Linked DNA regions of Homo sapiens: region 2 is linked to region 1. The links are contacts of gene promoters, found by promoter capture Hi-C in blood cells and fetal thymus (Javierre and others, 2016). All regions are on one chromosome and are shown on one strand. Each heading gives the region's core, a stretch centred on a gene start or on the middle of the fragment in contact. The rest is flanking DNA. Distances are from core to core; before and after follow the strand shown.

What was found. The method cuts DNA at HindIII sites, captures the fragments that hold promoters and counts their contacts. A CHiCAGO score of 5 or more calls a contact.
Region 2: a fragment that was not itself captured here is called in contact with the fragment with the promoter of RSC1A1 in region 1 in 2 of 17 cell types (M1 macrophages and M2 macrophages); the score reaches 5.3 in M1 macrophages.

What each region holds. Positions count from the first base shown.
Region 1 is chr1:15,657,866-15,661,444 of GRCh38, reverse strand. RSC1A1 (regulator of solute carriers 1) reads right to left here and starts at 1,732. Exons shown (of 1, transcript NM_006511.3): 1 at 1-1,732. The coding sequence starts at 1,576. It overlaps DDI2 (DDI proteasomal shuttling factor 2), which reads right to left. Exons shown (of 10, transcript NM_032341.5): 10 at 1-1,608. The HindIII fragment of the contact is 1,265 bases long and covers 1,032-2,296 here.
Region 2 is chr1:15,717,029-15,720,607 of GRCh38, reverse strand. PLEKHM2 (pleckstrin homology and RUN domain containing M2) reads right to left here. Exons shown (of 20, transcript NM_015164.4): 4 at 2,616-2,715; 5 at 1,983-2,070; 6 at 688-874. Among named protein-coding and RNA genes, the nearest start is that of SLC25A34, 17 kb to the left of the region's middle. The HindIII fragment of the contact is 5,509 bases long and covers 1-3,579 here.

The sequences.
Region 1 (3,579 bases), core at 483-2,982:
GACCTAAGTCTTTAACCAATATGAAATTGGATGACAAAGACTTAGTTTGCTCAGAAGTCTGATTGAGTGCATCCTCCTCACCTGCTAAAAGTTTGGGTGAAATTTCTACACCTAAGGTGCAGTGTAACTGATTGGATGTTTTAGCTGAGGTTACAGTGACAGAACGGTTCTTATTTATGGATTCCCTAGATTTGGGGACACCTTCCTTATCGGTTGACAGGCCATCACCTAGACTCCTGAAGTTTACATTTTCTACAGCTTCTCTTCCAGTGTCAGATGAAGTACCTGTTAATTTTTCTGTCTCCACTGATACAGATATGGCCTGATGAAAGGAGACTTGTGGACACTGTTCATTCTGGGTAAGATGCTCATTTTGGGTCCATCTTTCAGAAAGGTCTTTAATACTGGTTTGGCCCTCAGCTATGGTTTCTGATTGACAGATTACTTCTTCAGATGTATTTTCTGAAGCTGGTTTACTGCTAACAACCAAAAGTTCATGAAGTTCTTTCAAGGCTGCCGTTATAGACGGGCAAGATTCTTCTGCTGACTCCACAGAAGGCTGACAACTGCCACAGAGACTTGGAGAGGAGTAATGGCCATATTCTTTATTTGTTCCAGGTATTTCAACATTAGTTTCTGGGGGCTGTAAATCCTGAGTGGAAATGGAATCATTCAAAATTTCAGATGAAGGGTTACATTTTGATGTTTCTACTTCCATCAAGGGATTATCTAAAGTGAGATCCAATGCACCAATGTTCTTGACATTGGCATTCTGCCTGCCTGTTGAATTAAGCAAAGTAACTAGGGACTGTTGAGCTGTATCGATTTCCATAAATGTTTCTGAATTTGAGCAGCCACTGCATTCTGAAGATGGAATACTTTTCTTCGCACTTGGAGGATCCACATTCTGTGGGAGCCCATTTCCTTTCATCGTAGCTTCCAAATCAACAATTTTGTGTTGATTCTGTTGCCTTTCTTCAGGAAGCTCAAGGTCCCCTATGTTACAAAGATATTCTTGGTCATGTGAAGCTTTTTGTTGTGCAACCTCATACTGTTCATTCCCTGGTTCTTCGTGCTGCTGAGGGTCACTCACTTGACTCAGGTTCTGATTTTCTGGATGCCAATCCTTTTCACCTAGAAACATCTGTGGTTCATGCATCCTAGTAGATGTGACAGATAAACTAGCTTCCTGTCTTGTATGGAGATGAAATTTGAGGCCCTGGGTGCTTCTTTCAGCAGATTTCTCCAGATTACCTGCAACAGTTATTTCTTCGGATGAATTCTGCATAGGCATAGCTGGACTCTGGTCTGTTGGAGCATGGTCTGCTGAGGAAGCATGATCAGAAAGATCTTGTAAAGAAAGATGTTCTTTCTTTTCAGAGTTTAGCTGGAATTCAGCTGAAGCCTTCAAAGCCTTCACAGCTTTAGGTTCAATGCGATCTGAGTCACTGGGCTTGATAGGGCAGACTGAAGCAGAGACAGAGCGAGCAAGACTCATAGGATTACCAACATCAGGACTCTGTCCTGAAGAACGGGCGGGATGGTTAAACCCATCTGAAGTTGGTAATGATGACATTCCCAGTGAGGTAGATTCTTTACCACTTTTCTCTATATGGAACACAGGGGAAAGGAAAAAGATTAATTAGCAGGTGACTAATGCCACTAAATTACCAGAGGATACAAATCTAAACAGCGTAGAATAAAATAAGGTCCTCAAACTCGGGTTTCTCTTACACAAATAGAAATGATTTTAAAATTACTTTCTCATTGTGGTAGACATTCACAGCATCAGAATAAGAGGTAGACATGTTCTTAATAAAATCTGCATACTGTAATTCAATGTGATTAAGTATCCATTAATATGCATTCACATAATGGCGGGGTTAGTGCTCAGGAATGAAGGACATTTATGTTTCTTTATTCCCTAGTCTAGTCTACAACTCTAGAATAGTTTCTCCAAGTGTACTTTTTTCACCACTTGCCCTAAAACCACCAGGGACGCTTGTGAAGTATGCAGACCCTGGGGTACCATACTTGAGAGTAAATCCAGGAATGTGCATTTTCAATAAGCTCCTTGGGTGATTCTTAAGGATATTACAAATCCTGAGAATCTTTGCACCAGAATGATTCTCATGTTAATGCACTTTTCTTGTTTCAAATGTGAACACTGAGGTTACAAATGAGAAGTCTTAAACCAGGTATACCTGGACAGAGAGGGAATTATAAAGAGAAATAAGAAATAACATAATGCTTGGGGACAGAGAAGCAAATGTTCTATTTTATTTCTAGCCAAGCTTTCCAAAAATCATGGTAAAACTGGGTGAGCATCTGACTCAGAAAACAAAAGTAAACTAATGATCAGCAGATTAAATCACAATCATCATCCTACCAAATAATACAACTCTAAACTTAAAAGGCTTATAAGTTTTTATCACATCAATAGTGTGCAACTAAGTTAAGAATATTTAAATGTTTTAAAGAAAGGGGAATGTGGAGGGAGATGGTTCATTAATAGTTTTTCAACTGGCAATGACTATTTAGATTCACTGCTACCTTAGACCACCCAAACAAGACGGCTCAGTGTAAGCATCATAGTATCATTAAACATCATTTCCAGCTCTTCTTTTGCCACCAATCCAGTTAAAAATTGACCTCTACGCATGTAAGTGTAAGAATTTTTTTTTTTTTTTAAGACTGTGTTTTGCTCTTGTTGCCCAGACAGGAGTACAATGGCGCCATCTGAGCTCACCGCAACCTCCGCCTCCCGGGTCCAAGCGATTCTCCTGCCTCAGAGTAGCTGGGATTACATGCATGCGCCACACACCCGACTAATTTTGCATTTTTAGTAGAGATGAGGTTTCTCCACGTTGGTCAGGGTGGTCTCAAACTCTTGACCTCAGGTGATCCGCCCGCCTCAGCCTCCCAAAGTGCTTGGATTACAGGCAAGAGCCACCGCACCCGACCATTGTAAGATCTTTAATTAAAAATCAAAAAGGGCTGGGCACAGTGGCTCATGCCTGTAATCCCAGCACTTTGGGAGGCCGAGGCAGGTGGATCACCTGAGGTCAGGAGTTCGAGACCAGCCTGGCCAACGTGGTGAAACCTCATCTCTACTAAAAATACAAAAATTAGCCAGGCGTGGTGGTGGGTGCCTGTAATCCCAGCTACTAGGTAGGCTGAGGTGGGAGAATTGCTTGAACCCAGGAGGGAGAGGTTGCAGTGAGCCAAGACTGCACCACTGCACTCCAGCCTGGGTGACAGAGTGAAACTCAGTCAAAATAAAAAATAATAATAATAAAAAATAAAAATCAAAAGGTCAGTAACAAAAATGACTTCAAAATACAATCTATTATTAGGACAGATGCAACTCAAATGCTCAGTACTAAATGTTAACATCCAACAAGAGGGCTTGATCTTAAAAAGCAGCAAAGCAGTTATATTCAAAAGGCTTTAAATCATTCTAATAAACTACTGGTTAACAGCATGAGAAGACAAAGCATTGTTTCAGGAAGCTATTGACTTCCCATGAAACAATCTTACCTTACTTACACTTTAGGAGTAAAAAGGAAAACTGCACTT
Region 2 (3,579 bases), core at 670-3,169, 59 kb before region 1:
GGTCTCCTACAGGAGATAAAGAGGGGAAAATGGCCAGTTTTATCCATGAACACCAGGGCCTAAGGTTTGAAAGAAACCAGGCTGTTCCAGTAAATCATTGGGTCAAGACAACAAAATGACCTGCAGCTTCTTCCTCGGTCCCTGATGCAAAGGGTGCGACCATCCCAAACACATCAGCGAGCGCAGAAGGAACTCAGAGAAATCGGACGGACACACAGGACACAGTGGCAAGGTTTCCCTGCGCTTCAGACCTGCCTGGTTCTCTCTTCTTCTAGGGGTTGCTTAACCTCCTTCTGCAAAGAATGTGGGGTCAGACAAGCTCCCCAGAACAGGCAACACTCAACCCTGCGACAAGGTTTCCAGGTCCCACTGCTAAACCTTCCTTGCTTAGAAAACTGCCACAGGCATGTGACTAGAACCTTCTGGAAAAGGGTCTAACCTTAAAAAATATATATTTTATATATATATATATATATATAATTTCAGCTTTTTGTGCCCAGAATCCACTTTTTAGCCACCACAGGGACTCTGAGGAGATGAAGATCTGGGAAATGGCCAGCCCTGTTTAATTGCAAATTTCAGCCACCAGACCAAAACTAGCCAAGGAAGACATCACCCAGCCAGGCTTAAGCAGTTCAAGTCTGTTTCACAACAGGGGCTTAGCTTTTCTGCCCTGGGGCCACTCACCCTCACTAGATGGGGCAATCGCACTGTCATCCCACTCCAGGTTGGTGGAGGTGACGGAGTTGAAAGAGTTGAGGGACAGACTGTCTGAGCCGTGGACCGAGCTGGGAAGGCGGTCTTCAAAGTCCAGCAGGTACTGAGGTTTGTAGTAGTCGGGCATGTAGGGGGCCAGGTCTAGGTAAGGGGCATCCTGAGGAGAGAGTAGAGGAGGCCCGTTTGGTGGGAGGCCTCGTGCAGCGGCCTTCTGCAGACAGCAGGATCCAGGCCTGGGAGACACAGATGTGCCTCTTTGGGAAATCAATGGCTTAAGGTAGTAAATTCAAAGAAAAGCTGCTAAGAAGAGCAATGTGAATAGTGTTGGCTTTTAAAGCTGTGGACTTCAGGCTGATGGAAGACAGAGCTGTCAGAACTCAGCTACACCCTTTGATGCCCCCGCTATCTCTCTCTCTCTCTATTTATTTATTTTTTTTTTTGAGACAGAGTCTCACTCTGTTGCCCTGGCTGGAGTGCAATGACGTGGCTCGGCTCACTGCAACTTCCACCTCCCGGGTTCGAGCGATTCTCCTGCCTCAGCCTCCCAAGTAGCTGAGATTATAGGCGCCCATCACCACACCCCGCTAACTTTTGTATTTTTTTAGTAGAGACGAGGTTTCGCCATGTTGGCCAGGCTGGTCTCGAACTCCTGACCTCAGGTGATCCACCCACCTCAGCCTCCCAAAGTGCTGGGATTATAGGTGTGAGCCACTGCGCCTGGCCCAAGGAAGGTCATTTGATTAGGACGGGGCAGCTGCATCCATTTTGAGCCCAGTCCAAGAGGTGCCTGGGAGCCTCTTTGGCTCTATGTGGGCCAGCATCCCATTTGTACAGGGTGTGATGGGGAGAGAAACTTGAGAACTTGAAGAGGGTGGCTGAAGGCTCTTCATGGAGCTGATGACACTTTTCAGAACCCCAGAAGCACCAGGCTGAAACTGCCTTGTCCTTCTAACTCTTCACATCCTAAACATGAAGGCCAGTTCTTCTGGGCTAAGATACTCCAGGCAATGTGGCTTTTCTCCAAGTTGGATAGGGAGATAGGAAAAAGTCACCTGAACCAGGAATTCTTGCCATCACTTCTCTTCTCACTCAATTCGATGGACCCTGAAACCTTTCCCTCGCCCAAAAAAACAAGTTTTGCTCAAGCCCAGTCATACTCAACAAGCTCCCTCAACAAGACCTGAGAAATGAAGCCACCGCCCACCCTGCCCCCACCCTGCCCCCTCCTCTGCTTCCCACAAGCAGTGAGAGCCCTGGTGTCTCACCAGATCCAGCTCGAAACGAATGAACTCTAGCCCGGACACCAAGGTCAGGAAGAGCGTCAGGTGATCGTGGCTGCAGACCAGGGCATTCCTGCAAGACATGAGAAGCCACGATGGTGCCTCTGGGTCTGTTTACCAGCCTGGCCTAACCTTACCAACATACCAGCTGTGTTGAAATCTGACACGTGATGTCCTCCACCTTGGACGGCACCCAGCTTGATATAGCTGTTGCCCACCACCCTCTCAGCGATCTCCTACTGGGTTAGCAGCCACACTGCACTGTCCTGCCAGTGTCTTCAGAGATGGACGAGCACAAGGCTTGTCAGGCTCTCAGCAGCTGCTGTACACACTCTGTTCCTGCAGCAACCCCAGCAAAGGCTGAGCCAAAGCATGGGCACTGGTCAGGTCTGAAGCCTGGGAGGAGGACCAGGGAGCAGCAGAGACCCAGACTGTACCCAGGAGCCCAGATGGGACACCGGTGCTCCTGGTGAAGGCTACCCAGCTACTGGCAAGGTTCTAATGGCTCTCTGGCATCACTGATGTGGCACACTGTGCTGTCTGCATGACAAGAGCCTTTGGGAGGTAGCTGAAAGGGAGCTCTGAGGCTAGGGGAGACAGACCGTCCCAGACACTCACTTGACGTAGTACTTATGCAGCAGGCCCAGGTTCTCCTGGAACAACCGCAGGTAGCTCTCCAAGGAGTTCTCGTTGAGGGCCAGGTACAGCCAGGCACGGCCTGCAAACAAAGGCAGGAGTAACCGGCAGGAAGGCCTCTCAGACTGCTGGCTTTTATTTGCCAAGCAAGCGCAGAAAGGAAAGAAAGAGCAGGTAATGGGACCAGGCACTTCAGTGGCCTTTGTGCTTGGTGGGGTACCATAACCCCTGAGTGCTTTATTTTCCTAGTCAGACCTCAGCATGTAGCTGGCCAGGAAATTCTGATAAAGAGGGCAGACTGCACACTTCAGACAGGTCAAGAAACGCCAGGACTCTGCACTGATCCTGTAGGCTAACAGTGATCCCAGCTCAGGGAGAGAAACCAGACTCCATAGCACGTGCTCAGGCTGGGATTCCATAAGAGTCCAGCTCTCGCTGGCAGCTCGCCCTCTTTCTCCCCATCACTGCTGTGCCAAAAAACCATCATATGTGGGGAGAAAAGAGGCCTCATGGAGGGGGCTGGCATTTTATAAATTTATTATTTATTACTATTATTTTATTTTTTGAGACAGAGACTCTGTCACCCAGGCTGGAGTATAGTGGTGTGATCACAGCTCAATACAGCCTTAAATTCCTGGGCTCAAGGGATCCTCCTGCCTTACCCTCCCAAAGTGTTGGAATTACAGGCATGAGCCACTGTGCCCGGCCATTTTCCTAAATCTTTAGAGATGGGGTCTCACTCTTTCTTCCAGGCTGGAGTGCAATGCTGTGGTCATGCCTCACTGCAGCCTCAAACTCCGGGGCTCAAGCCATCCTCCCACCTCAGCCCCTGAGTAGCTGGGACTATAGGTGTGTACCAAGACATCCATGTAATATTTAAATTTTTGTAGAGATGGGGTCTCACTGTGTTGCCCAGGCTGGTCTAAACTCCTGGCCTCAAGCCATC